Regions from separate parts of the Homo sapiens genome. Here regions 2 and 3 are each linked to region 1. The links are contacts of gene promoters, found by promoter capture Hi-C in blood cells and fetal thymus (Javierre and others, 2016). All regions are on one chromosome and are shown on one strand. Each heading gives the region's core, a stretch centred on a gene start or on the middle of the fragment in contact. The rest is flanking DNA. Distances are from core to core; before and after follow the strand shown. Region 1 holds the start of ARF4 (ARF GTPase 4). Region 2 holds the start of TASOR (transcription activation suppressor). Region 3 holds the start of ARHGEF3 (Rho guanine nucleotide exchange factor 3).

Region 1 (4,354 bases), core at 810-3,309:
ATATACTATGTGTTCTGGAACATAACCATATATTGTTAAATCTCTTTAACGAACAGACTGGAAATTCATTTATCACAGTCCGAAGTCCTCCCATTAACTTCCGATCCTTTTTCAGACTGCCAACTTTCAGCCACTGAAAACTTAAATATGCTTGCCCTCCTAAAATAATTCTGTCCTCTTGACAAAGGAAATCTAAGAAACTTTGAAAGAAAAAATACTTTATGAATGACTCATAAACAATTGATTCACAAAGTGTAAGTACGCTAAGAGGAAAATAAACATGAGCCAATGTATATACTGTTACTCTTTATATACCTTGAAATATTACAGAAGCTTGTGTTTGCAAGTTTTGATGGTAGTACAGCTCTAAAATAAAACCTCCGGCCGGGCGCGGTGGCTCACGCCTGTAATCCCAGCACTCTGGGAAGCCTGGGTGGGTGGATCACCTGAGGTGAGGAGTTCGAGACCAGACTGGCCAACGTGGTGAAACCCCCGTCTCTACTAATAATACAAAAAATTAGCCAGGCGTGGTGTTGCATGCCTGTAATCCCAGCTACTCGGGAGGCTGAGGCAGGAGAATCTCTTGAACCCGGGAGGTGGAGGTTGCAGTGAGCCGAGATTGCGCCACTGCACTCCAGCCTGGGTGACAAGAGCAAAACTCCGTCTGCAAAAAAAAAAAAGGAAGAGAAAAATAAAACCTCCTCCGGTAGAAAACAAGCTAATGAACCAACAAGTTTCAACGTTCAAAGTTAGAGGGGCTTCTTTCAGCGTTATTCTAGTCCATGGAGCTCAGCTGTGATGTAGACTGCTTACAGTAACCGGGAGCGGTTGCTTACTTCAGCCAACTGACAGCCCTTCTCCCTCAGCTGAGCAAAAACACGCCCCCTAAAAAGTAGTTTTTAAAAAGTCAACTTTCTAAAAAGAAATTTTAAAAAAATTGTAGTTACTATTTAACAAGACTACCATAAAATTCAGCGTCATGATGTTCAGTTACTTGAAAATTTATCAGGTATTTTTTAAAAATTCGTTTCTAAAATTTTTTTGCATTAGACCTTAGACCGCCTAAAAATAAGCTTAAAAACCTAGGAGAATAAACCAAACACATTTAAAGTTTTTGAAAATAGTCAAAGAAATAGAAGATAAGCTCAGTTTTCGGAGAATGAGATTAACAAGGAGCGAAAAACTTGAAACGGAATCCAGCGCAAGGCCAAGTTTAGCAAAGTGAGCGCTGAAGGACTCCAGACTCTTCGGAAACCTTGGGTGCTCCCTGGCCACCGCAACTTCCTGCCCCGGGCGGCTCCAGGCTCCGGGTGGCCGCTGGCTTACATACCAATGGAGTATGCAGGGACTGTACACGAAACGCAGAAGGGGAGGGAAAAGGCTGGAGTTGCTCTGCCTCCCTCCTGACCGCTGTCCACACCCGGGCAAGAAGGTATGCAGATCGCACCCCCAGAAAGGGCCTCGCCAAGTGTTTGCTTCCCAGAGTTGGCTTTCCCCACATCTCTGCCCAATGTTGTCCAGCTTTCAATAAGATCAAGGAGAAAAAGCCGAGTCCAGAAAGAAATCTTGCCCGAAGCCCTGTCCCTGTCTCGTCTGGCGACAGATCGGGGGCGGGGGGGATCGCTCACCCTCCGCTCCATTGTTCCCCCTTAAGAATTCCTTCCGACCCCCGACCCGGCGCCCCTCCCCCACCACAGCGGGCGGAGGAAAAAAACAGGCCCAGAGGCCACCCCAATTGTGGAGACCCTGCCTTTCCCAGGTCCCGCCTGACTCGCAGCCCCTCACTCACCCATCAAAATGCGCATCTGCTTCTTGCCAAATAGTCGGGAGAAGAGGGAGGAGATAGTGAGGCCCATGGCGGTAGTGGCACTTGTGATGGGCAGAAGCAGAAGGGGTTTGGGGCGACCCCGTGCTTTCTCCTTTCAAGCTCCCAGGCAAACTAAACGAGAGGGAAGAGAAAGAGCGGAGGAAGAAAGAGGGAGGCAGAAACGTCTCAGTGGCCCCTGTGCCGATGAAGATCCGGCACAGGAATAAGCCGGTAGAGGACCTGCTAGGCGACTGGCGCGGCAGCTCCGGCTCTAGCCTTTAGGCTCTGGCTGTGCCACGTCACGCGGCGGCCGCGGCGACTCCAGCAGCGGCCCGGCCCCTCCAACGCGGACAGAATCGCGTCACCGCCGCCCCATCCCCCTGCGCTTCCGGTGCGCCCGAGCCACTGCGCTTGCGCCTGCAGGGGATTGGCCAGTTTCGCTGACGAGCATCTCTCGACGGCGCCACCGCCCGGACGTGGCCCCAGGAGCCGGGAGAGGCCGGCTGAGGCACATGCGTACTGGGAGACGGACAAAGTCCCACAATACCTCGCTTCGTCACTGCCAAATCAGACTCAGGGTGAGACGCTTCCGCCCGGATGAAGGTATTGTCGGGGTGATAGTCCTTGCTTCCGGAAAGGCGAGCTGAGCATTATGGGTTAGGTGAGGAACCTCGCCCTCTTCTATTACGGTACGCGCGATGGGTATTCCCTGATGCCATGAACTTACACGTTTCACACACGGGACCAGACGCTTGCTTTAGTTGACGCATGAAGACCGGTCCGGTCTTTTGCGGAGAAAAGTGGTTAAAAGCTGACTTGTGGGCCGAGAAACTGTGGCACCCTAATGAGCTAGGGCTAGACGCTTCGACCACCACGCCAAGTGATTCTGAAGATCTCTAATTCTGTCAAGGCGAGAGCGCTCCAACACGTGTTCATCGGCTGTTGCTTTTTAAAGAGAAGGCAAGGAGGAAGTCTTGCTTTTCTTGTACTTTTTTTCCTAGAAGCAGCATTAAAGATTTACTCCTTATGTTGAGGAAGCGGAAAGCCTCTTCACTTTAAAAGTGTTTATGATCGGGCCTGGCGCGGTGACTCACCGCGCCCGGCCTGCTACACCTTTTAAAATTCACAGCAATGATAAATGTATTAGACTCATTGCCAGGATAAAGATTTAATCTATTTTTCTAGTAGTGCCGTCCTATGTGGTTCTGTAGTTGCTTATTCCAACTGGTATATTTCCATAGGATGGGGTTGAATAAGAAAAACTTGCAAACTTTCAGAAACAGTAAGTTATTTTTATATTTTTGAAGGCTTGCTGAGTAACGCTTCTCTTGGTAGCACTACCTTATCTACCCTTCAGAGACTGTTATTTCTTAGGAGTGGCCCTGGGCAATTAAAAGCAAAAACTTCTGGCCGGGCATAGTGGCTCATGCCTGTAATCCCAGCACTTTGGGAGGCCGAGGCGGGCAGATTACGAGGTCAGGAGATCGAGACCATCCTGGCTAACACGGTGAAACCCAGTCTCTACTAAAAATAGAATAAATTAACCGGGCGTGGTGGCGGGTGCCTATACTCCCAGCTACTCCGGAGGCTGAGGCAGAAGAATGGCGTGAACCCGGGAGGCGGAGGTTGCAGTGAGCGGAGATCGCGCCCCTGCACTCCAGCCTGGGCGACAGAGCGAGACTGTCTTAAAAAAACAAACAACAACAACAAAAAAACCCCAAAAACTTCTTTACTCAGAAGTACCCTCCTTTGCATTGGAGATACATGTAAAGAGTTGCTTAGCAGTTGAATAACTCAAAATTGCATTTTGGAAGCTTGCTAAGTGACAAGACCTTCTTGTATCCTTTTGTGAACCCCCAAAATATGAGACAGGCCTCAGTTAATTTAGAAAGTTAATTTTGCCAAAGTTGAGGACACGCGTCCATGACATAGCCTCAGGAGGTCTTGTAGACATGTGCCCAAGGTGATCAGAGCACGGTTTGGTTTTATACATTCTAGGGAGAAATGAGACATCAATCAATATATGTAAGATGAACATTGGTTCATTCTGGAAAGACTGGACAACTCAAAGCAAAGGCAGGAAGACTCTGAGTGGGGAGGGAGCTTCCAGGGCATAGATAGATAAGAGACAAATGGTTGCATTCCTTTGAGTTTCTGATTAGCCTCTCCAAAGGAGGCAGTCAGATATGCGTTTATCTCAGTGAGCAGAGGGGTGACTTTTTAAAGAATGGGAGGCAGGTTGGCCCTAAGCAGTTCCCAGCTTGACTTTTCTCTTTAGCTTAGTGAGGTGGAGGCCCCAAGATTTATTTTCCTTTCACACTTTAGGCCTTATGTCTGTTTTTAGTTTTATATAGTAGAATTCCTTAAAACAATCTTCAACTAATTCTTAGGGTCTTCTTAAATTCAAAAGACAAACCGTATGAGCCCTCCTCCCTGTAACTTATTCCAAATCTTAATCCATGTTTTCTGTTTAGTTATGCAAAATAAATCGAAAGAATTCTGTTCTCCATCTCTAGCCTCCAAAACCTGAACCAAAACAAAAGTTGT
Region 2 (4,354 bases), core at 823-3,322, 910 kb before region 1:
AAAATAGCTGCTTATTTAATTTTTTAAAGTTCTATTTAAATCGCTATTTTACTATTTGAACAGCTGGTGTTCAGGGTATAAATAATTACACAAGTTAAAAATTGCTCATTTTCACTAATCATGACAAAGTCCACTGCGATATATTTTCCTCCCAACTTTTGTCTGTAAGTAAAAATGGAAAATACAAGTTTTACCCAAGAGGTACAAGACTATGGGGGACAACAGCTAGATTTATATTTCCTAATCCCTCAATTATTTCCACTTTTAGTGTGTTCAGCTGAAGTCTATTTTACAACAATCTCTGGATTTTATCTAATTTTAAAAAAACACACAAACACAGTGCCTTTCCAGTTCCTACTGCCTTCCCACATTTCAAACTAAATTTTGAAGAGTTTCTAGGCCAATCTTCTGGTCCTAACAAACAGTAAAAAAAAAAAAAAAAAAATCACGGTTTGTCCATATTCTTAGGCACTTAAACCTTAAAAATAGATTTCAAACGGCTTTTATCAAGCTGTGAAGAAAAAAAATAGTTCCACCTCCTACCTCATAACCAGAGCCCATTTGAATGTACTTCCTACCTATTCTCTACCAATTGATTACACTGGGAACTTTTCTCATACAGACTATAATCATACATCTCAAATTTTAACTAAATACACGAAAAGAACTGAGTTTTGACCTTTAAAAGTATCTTTCTGAACCCTAAAATTACATTAACTCAAAAGATATTTCTAGAAACATTCCTCATGCTAATTTCCAAAGGTTAACTTCATCTTTGTCAACATGGTTTCTCACACCAAGTATTTTCTTGGCTTTGCCATCCAAACAAATGAACTTTATTTGTATTTTTCCAATAAAAGGCTCAAACAATTCCAGTAGTGCAAATGGAACTGGTGATGCTTATGGAAAGTCAGTATAATGCTACAGCCAAGACTCTGTACCAGATGGATGGAAAAGATACGGGAAAAAAACAAATCCTATTTTTTTCCAAAGTAAATAATGAAAACCTAACCATACAGTAGGGCAAAAAGGAAGTTGTCTAAATTCAGAATATCCAAAATTTACTGGATAGTTAAAAAATAATACCCCAATAACAAAAAACGATACTAATTTTGACCTCCATTAGGAATTCTGACTCCATATTAACAATATGGCATTAAGATTTTTTAAAAGTACAAGTAATTAATGTAACTGTTTCCATATGGGTTCCAAAAACTAAGACTGGACTTTTTTTTAACCTGAAGTTCTACCATCTAGAAGACCAAGTTGGTGACTCTTGAGAATAAGGTAACTTCTCATTAGTTTTTTTCCATTGGGAAATTACTGCTCCAAGAACCTACCTTTCCATTCTTTTCAAATATAAGAAAAACAATACTAAGTTCGAATTTAAAGAGAGAAAAACCTATTTAATCTAACGCTTCAAAAACAAGGGGGAAAAATCTACATGGAAATGAAGTGTGATGGAAAACAGCAGTGTGCATGGATCACATCTACTAATAGAGATTTCTAAATAAGGGAGGACGCTGACATCAAGCACATTTCAAGTAGACACACAGAACTGAAGAATTTCCACGGGGAGAAGCACTCATGGTCCTCAGAACATTGGCAATGGCCTTGGAGAAAGCCCCAGAATCCATGGCCACGGGCTATTTCCATAGCGAGACTTCTCAGAAGCATCCTTAGGAGGACACAACGGCTTCTCTGCTTTCAGGGGCTGGGAGGGAGGGGCGCCGAGCACCATCTTTCCTCTCTGGGAGCTGCAGCCTTACGGACAAGCTTCAAACCTGAGCTACTTCCAACTTCCGCGGGGAGGGGCAGCAGGGGAGCGTGGTTCCACCGCTTTCTCTCGCACCAAACGCGGCAGCTGGGCGGCCGTGGCGGTGAGGGGAGAGGCGGCCGGCGCTGCATGCGTGTTTACGTATCTCGGATGGGTGTGGGAAGAGGAGATAGAAAGATTCTAATGAAAAGATGGAGGGGAGAGAGAGAGGGGGTTGAGAAGAAGGGGAGGCACCACCTTTCTTTTCTCTGCTCTTCCTGGGGATCTGAAAACTCCTCCTAACAGGCCTTTCGGGCTCTTCGGGGCCTCTGGGCAGGGCGGCCGCGCCCGCCTCAGAGGAGTCCTGAGGCTGCTCGTGGCTGAGGCTCTGGGCGGCCTCGGCCCCCGCGTTCTCCTCACGCCCAGCGCCGCCGCTGGGCTCAGCGATGTTGAGGCCGCCGCCGCCGCCATTTTGTTGGGAGGACTCAAGCTCCGGAAGCGCCTGCTTCATCTCGTCGTCTCCGCCGCCGCCACTTTCCCAACTCGCATCCGTCGGCTGACAGGCCTCCGTCTCCACAGCAGTCGCCATCGCGCCGGCCTAAGGAGCTCTGGGAAGCTTCTGCCCACAAGGTCGACGGGTGTGGGGGGAAGGGGCGGCGGGCCAGTCTCGCCGCCGAGCTGCTCTCAGCCCACCCACCCCCTTCCCCCCGTGGCCTCAGGCTGCGCTCCCGACCTGGCAGCCTCTTGGGGGGCCCTGTAGCGGGCACCCCAAATGCGCTGCCCGGTCCTCGGAGCCGCTCCTCCCTCGGGCAGTTCTTCTGCCTTCCCCCGCCACTCAACGTGCGCGCGTCGGGGCCGGGAGGGGGCGGGGCCACCGCGGGCCACTCCACCAATGGGAGCGCGGCACCCGCCTGCGCGAGTGCGGAAATACCGCGCCGGGGGGCGGAGTTTCGGGGCGCCCGAGCCCGCCAAAAGGGGCGACCGCAACGCCCCGCGAGGACCTCGACGCCGCAGCCGTGGCCTGCGGAATGCGTGGGCCCCTGGCGATCTTCGGGTTCCCGGGGATTCCCCCGCCGCGCTGCAGGCGAGGGAGACTAGCTTGGCCTCTTCTCCGGAGCGCAGGCGTCGCCCATTTGTGGGCAAAACCCTTCCTCTGCGCACGAGTTATCTCGGCCCAAACGGGCTTCAGAGCAGTGGATGCGGGACGATCTCGGTTTTATGAACTATTTGCATGTGTACAAAAACCTGGAGAGGAGATAAAAGAATGGGCTAGGCGGTAATAGCCTAAAAGCCTCGACAGCCTTTGCGACCTGCTATTCTCACCGGATCTTGTATCTTTATGATAGATTACTCGCACCCGGCCTTCTCTTTTATCTCAGAGAGTGTGACCCAGTGTCACAGCTCCAGCAAGCACTTTCACCTGAGATCCTCTGATGGGACTTAACAACCTAGTGTTAACAGGATTTGGTTCTGGGGAGTTTGAGGGGAGGAGGCTGTTAACTTTTCCCATTTTTTTCCTTTAGTCGCACCCCCCCCCACCACACGCCATGGAGACCGCACCTGGCCTCCATTTGTTCCCTTTCTATGGTTACTTCTGTTAAAAATCTGGCCACTGATAAACCTCTAACTCCACTGTTTCTTCCACTGGAACGTTCATCAACGTTTTCCTATAGTAAATGTATATTAAAGAAAAAATAAACTTGCGGTCACATTAAAAAATACACAGCAGGTCGTCGCTCTCCCATAAAGGGAACAACTTCATAGTTAAGAGCCCTTTACATAGTGGTTTCTACCTTATCAGTATAAACTATCACGGGTTATCGTGAGTACAGCCAATATTTACTGAGTGCTTTCTACGTGCTAGACACGGACTGGACAAGTGATTTACGTGCATTGTCTCCATTTAATCCTCACAGCAACAGACATGAGGTAGATACTAGTTTGCAGAATTTGAAAGAAGCGTTGCAAGACACTGGACAAATTATGGTAACCGAAGATTTGAAACCGGGTCTATTTAACTCTCCGAGTAAGTACTTAAGCACTGCACTGACTGCTTCTCTAAGACCTAATTTTCACAGCAGCTGTGCACTTTTATTCATTTTATGGACGAAGCAACAGAGGGCTGACATTTTGTTGAGGGTCGCCAAGCAGCAGGATCAGGTTTGAGACCCAGATCTCTAGTCTCAAACTGTCTCCCAAGGAGTTTACAGACCAAATTATCATCATAATAAAGCCCCAGGCTTAAAGAGCATTCCTAAGGGCAACACGAAAGTTGGATTCTTTTGTCCTCTAATAAACATTACCACTGTTTAACAGCTGATATTAAAAAAAAATCATGAATTGCCCAACCTATTCGAAACAATTTAGTAAATCATACGAAAGAGAGTGTAAATCCATTATTAGTAAATAGTTTAAAAACACATTTTAGGCCAGGCGCAGTGGCTCACGCCCATAATCCCAGCATTTTGGGAGGCCGAGGCGGGCAGATCACCTGAGGTCAGGGGTTGGAGACCAGTCTGGCCAACATGGTGAAACCCCATCTCTACTAAAAATACAAAAATTAGCCGGGCATGGTAGCACATGCCTGTAATCCCAGCT
Region 3 (4,354 bases), core at 1,100-3,599, 800 kb before region 1:
TGACCAATAAATACAAAAACAGATAAACTGAACAAAGCTGCATCAAAGATCAGAAGAAATAAACTTAATGCTCGTATCATATCACATTTTTCTGTGAAATTCTAGAGCCATGAACTAAGCTCCTTAGATTTCACAATTAATGATTACAGCCAGCAGGACCTCACTGATTATGGATATTAAAATTAAACATTTGCCAACCAATTCAAACCCCCATGTCATAAGAAATAGCAGATTAAGAGGCAGTATTATACTAACAGACATGCAATATTATAATCCCTGTAGAATATTTTCAAAAGCTTAAAATAGATCTTTTAAAGAAAATAAAAATACATTTTAAAAATATCATTTTTTGCTTTCACTGGAAACTACCACAAATAAAAAATTACAAATCACTTAAATCTTGAGTAGAAATTTTATTTGCTTTTAAGAGAATGCTTATTTTTGCATATTTTTTTACTCAGTGTACGGTATCAAATGCACATCAATGCCACTTGCCTGTTCCCCAGGAGCCTTTTCCTAAGTGATTTTCCCCAGTACACTTGCTGCAAGGATAGGAGTCAATGCTAGAAGGCACTTCCCAGTGCCATGCTGTGTGCACTGTCCTACCCAAGGCAAATTCGGAAGGAACAGCCATTACACACGGCCATTAAATGTTTAAAGGGCACAGGTGCTCTGTTGCAACGGCCTTTGAAGGTCAACAAGTCCTGTTTTCCTAGAAAGGCCTCTGGATAGATCTATTTTTCTTTTTATTATAACCACATTCTTTCCACAAAGAAAACAATCACTCTTAAAAAAATACTTTCAGAGGAATTAACAGTCAATGCCTAGCTTATAAACAATTATATAATCATGTTTTTCAAAAGGCTGACAAGCGAATGCTATTTTTTAATTTATGAATACTGACGACACCTACTGGTGGAAAATATATTTTAGTTAACTGCTTATGGAGAAGCTAGGCCTACAAGGGTTGGCTGCCTTTTGCGCTGATAAGGAAACCAGAAAACTACCCACTAAACTCACTTAGGTTTCTTTTTCCAATTTTGCCAATTTCCATTATCAGGAAGTGATATGCTCATCGATGAAGCTAAAAGATATCTCTGCCTCAAAGTGTATAAAGCATACTTGATTTAGTGTTTAAATCAAACACTAAAAAACAAAAACCCCAATAGTGATATCTGAAAAATATTTACCAACTATTTCCAAAACTATTCCAACCCCTTCCTTATTTCTCACATCAGGATATCCCCATACGAGGAAAATAAGTCATATTTTATAGTCTAGATCCAGCTACCAATGAAGAAAATTAATATTTGACATGTGATAAGTTTCATATTTGTGATATATAGACATATCTATATTCTATGTATAAGAATAAAATGAAATTAAGCAGGCAAGTTTTACCTAAGCCTTTAGCTAAACTACTCAAAAACACAGGACTAAGTAATAGTAGGAAGGGACTGGTTAGAGTCCTCAGCTATCCTCACTATTCTTTTCTTTGGCCCACTTCAATTTATTAATTTATTGGTTATGCCTTTCTTCCTTACAAGTGGAGTTTGAGTGGGCACCAATTGCGCTGCTCCTATGTTGATTAAATTAGGAAGTTCCCACTGAAAAAATATTATATCCATTCCAGGCCTGACCAACCTGAATTCTATGCAAATGCCACTAGGGCCATCACACTTTCACAGCTGCTGGCAACAAAAACTCTTTGTGATAATATTCGACTGAGCTGGAGTGTAGGGTTGGGTTTGAGTGAGGGAGAAGTTAGTTTGTGCTCAGCGTATAGAAAGCTGAATACAACCAGAGACTGCTTGGAGTCCTGTCAGCCTGGAGCAGCTCTTGCTAGAGGAAATGAATCTTTGATGGTGTGCTCCCGAATATACATGATTCAGTGAGCCAAGTGCATACAGCTGAGCAGACCCAAGGAAGGCGAGTGGGTGGAACCTCAAGAATGCTGTGACAAGGCCGGATGCACACCTGCCTTCAGCCTTTCCCCAGTGGTGGTGGTGATGTTTGATGTTCGCAGAGTGAGGTGTGGGAGAGTGGAAAGCTCCCAGATACACGCATGAGCGGCAATGACTAGCTGGGTCCTGTGGGTTCCACCGCAGCTTGACCACAGCAAAGCTGTAATCTAGCGAAAGCGACTGTATTCCCTAAGACCCTCAAAGAGAGGGATGCTTTCTCCTCCAGCTGAACCCAACCTTTAAGGCCAGTGAGCTATGTGCCAGAGAAATAACACGCAAGAGGAAAAGGCAGACTAAACATAACCTGGGAGCACTCCTTCACATCGCCCGCAAGGCACAGGAAAGTTCCCAGAAAGAGAAATGTTTCCAATGTTCCAAGGCAGCTTTCCATTGACCCTAAGGACTTTAATTCATTTTCAAGATCCATGTGGGAGACACTCCAATTTACTCATTTAGCCCCAGCCCCCCGGCTGAATGACCCTCACTGGCCACAGGTGATAGGCAGAGGCGCTGTGTCCTGTTTTTGCTGCCAAAGGGCTGCAAGGCCAAGTCTGACAGGTGAGAGGGCTGGTACGTCCCTCTGCTCTCACAACCCAGGCAAAAAAAACTCGCTTAAAGGGTAGCGACACTGGGGCTTGCTGACACTTCCCTGACACTGGGGCTTGCTGACAGTAGGAGAAAGTCCCTCTGAGAGTCCAGACAGAAGATGGACAGTCTGAGAGCCCTGCAAAGGCAAGGAGGCAGTTGCTCCCAGACCGGCAGGTAGAGGGACAGGGAGAGAGGAGGCAGCTAGTGCTTGGTCCACAGAGAAAAAGCGAGAGAAAAGGAGACAGGGTGAGAGATGGCGACGGGGAGACACAAAGAAGACTGTGGGAGAGATGTAGAGAGAGAAAGTGGCACACACGGAGAGTGAGAGATGGAAACAGAGACAGTGACACTGGACGGGCGCCGAGAATGGGAGATGGAGGCAGACGAGACAGGCAGATGACCCATAGAGGTCCAGGTGCAGGGCGCGGCCCTACCTCAGCGTCCTTGGCCGGACCGCTGGCCGGGGGTAGCTCCAGGCTGCAGTTCGCTCTCTTGACCGTGAGGTAGAAGGGGTAATCCTTGGCCACCATGGCGGCTGCCGGGCCTGCCCTTTGGGATGTCACCGCTGACCCTAGGCGACTACAAAACTCCCAGGCAAAAGGGGGCCCCAGCTCCACGATGCCGGGCGGCGGCGGCGACACGGAGACCGACAGCCGGCTTCTAGCCGGGCAGGACTCGACTGGGCTCCGGAGCCGAGTGGGCGGGACCGTGCCAGCCACGCCTTGATGGGTGGGGAGGGGGCGGGCCGCCGGCTCGGCACCGCCCCACGCTGCCGGGAGGGCCCACGTGCCGCAGCGCGGACACCTCCTGGGGCTGCGAGGGGCGTGGGGCGGTCCCGCGGGTGGAGAGGGACCTCTCTCTCCCCGCTGGTATTCGACTCCGGGCGCCCCCGCAGAGCGTGGGCCGCGATTGCGGGGCAGGCAGACCCCATGATAGCTCCTTTCGGGCTCTTTGGCACTCTCCGGGTGAAAGGCTGCTGGTAGAAAGGAGGCTGGGGCGAAACCGGGCAACGGGGAGAAAGGAGGCTGTAGTGACACCTGGAGGCAGGAAGGAGCCTGGGGGGAAAAGCGAGCGTTTTAAAAGCCCACATTAGAAAGGGGTGGTGTTCTCTCTTACCCTGTTCCCAGGCCACTGCACGTTTTTTTTGTTTTGTTTTGTTTTTGTTTGGTTTTTTAAATGAATGTCAGTGGAATATAATCTACAAATGGCAAAATGCACCCATTTTAAGAGTACCGTTTGTTGAGTTCTGACAAATGTAAACACCCGTATAACCACCTCCACAGTCGGTATACGAAACATTTCCACCACCCCCGGAAAATTCCCTCGAGACCTTTCCCACTTTGCACCAACTTTTAAATTTGACTAGCATATTCAGAGGCTGCCTGACACTCGAGGGCAATCTGACAGAGTGTCCTTCAAGTATAAAGCTGTGCATGGATGACCTGGCACTACCACACCTTTCTGGATCCTTTTTGGAGAAACAATGACATTATAAATGCCCAAGAAGGCGATTGATCTTAAGGTTGTTTGCAGCAGCCCTGTCTGGGGCAGTAAAAAATAAAAAATAACTGGAAACAATGGTAATATATCCATCAATAGGGAGTGCTTAAATAAACTTTCTTCACTGTGTAATACCGCTTAGCAGCAGTGAAAAAGGAGATGGGTCTATGGGTGTGGCATGGAAAGATCTCCAATGTATTAGACTCAGTTTAAAAATAATTGCAGACTAAGCATAATACAATACCATTTGTGTTAAAAAAAAATACAAGTTTACCAAAGAATATCATATATTTTCTATAAAG

Evidence for each region. The method cuts DNA at HindIII sites, captures the fragments that hold promoters and counts their contacts. A CHiCAGO score of 5 or more calls a contact.
Region 2: a contact is called between a fragment that was not itself captured here and the fragment with the promoter of ARF4 in region 1, in 5 of 17 cell types (fetal thymus, naive CD4 T cells, monocytes and 2 more). The highest score is 11.3, in fetal thymus.
Region 3: a contact is called between a fragment that was not itself captured here and the fragment with the promoter of ARF4 in region 1, in 1 of 17 cell types (fetal thymus). The highest score is 5.9, in fetal thymus.

Annotation. Positions count from the first base shown.
Region 1 is chr3:57,595,285-57,599,638 of GRCh38, forward strand. ARF4 (ARF GTPase 4) reads right to left here and starts at 2,060. Exons shown (of 6, transcript NM_001660.4): 1 at 1,790-2,060. The coding sequence starts at 1,856. It overlaps ARF4-AS1 (ARF4 antisense RNA 1), which reads left to right and starts at 2,505. Exons shown (of 2, transcript NR_132370.1): 1 at 2,505-2,767. It also overlaps a transcript of PDE12 not described here. RefSeq lists enhancers at 1,464-1,513, 1,534-1,683, 1,597-2,796, 1,672-2,377, 1,714-1,763 and 4 more. The HindIII fragment of the contact is 2,548 bases long and covers 1,072-3,619 here.
Region 2 is chr3:56,680,662-56,685,015 of GRCh38, forward strand. TASOR (transcription activation suppressor) reads right to left here and starts at 2,604. Exons shown (of 24, transcript NM_001365635.2): 1 at 2,015-2,604. The coding sequence starts at 2,345. RefSeq lists enhancers at 1,435-2,379, 1,587-1,706, 2,127-2,296 and a silencer at 2,437-2,736. The HindIII fragment of the contact is 596 bases long and covers 1,775-2,370 here.
Region 3 is chr3:56,798,717-56,803,070 of GRCh38, forward strand. It overlaps ARHGEF3 (Rho guanine nucleotide exchange factor 3), which reads right to left and starts at 3,233. Exons shown (of 10, transcript NM_019555.3): 1 at 2,987-3,233. The coding sequence starts at 3,082. RefSeq lists an enhancer at 819-868 and a silencer at 3,233-3,402. The HindIII fragment of the contact is 4,111 bases long and covers 295-4,354 here.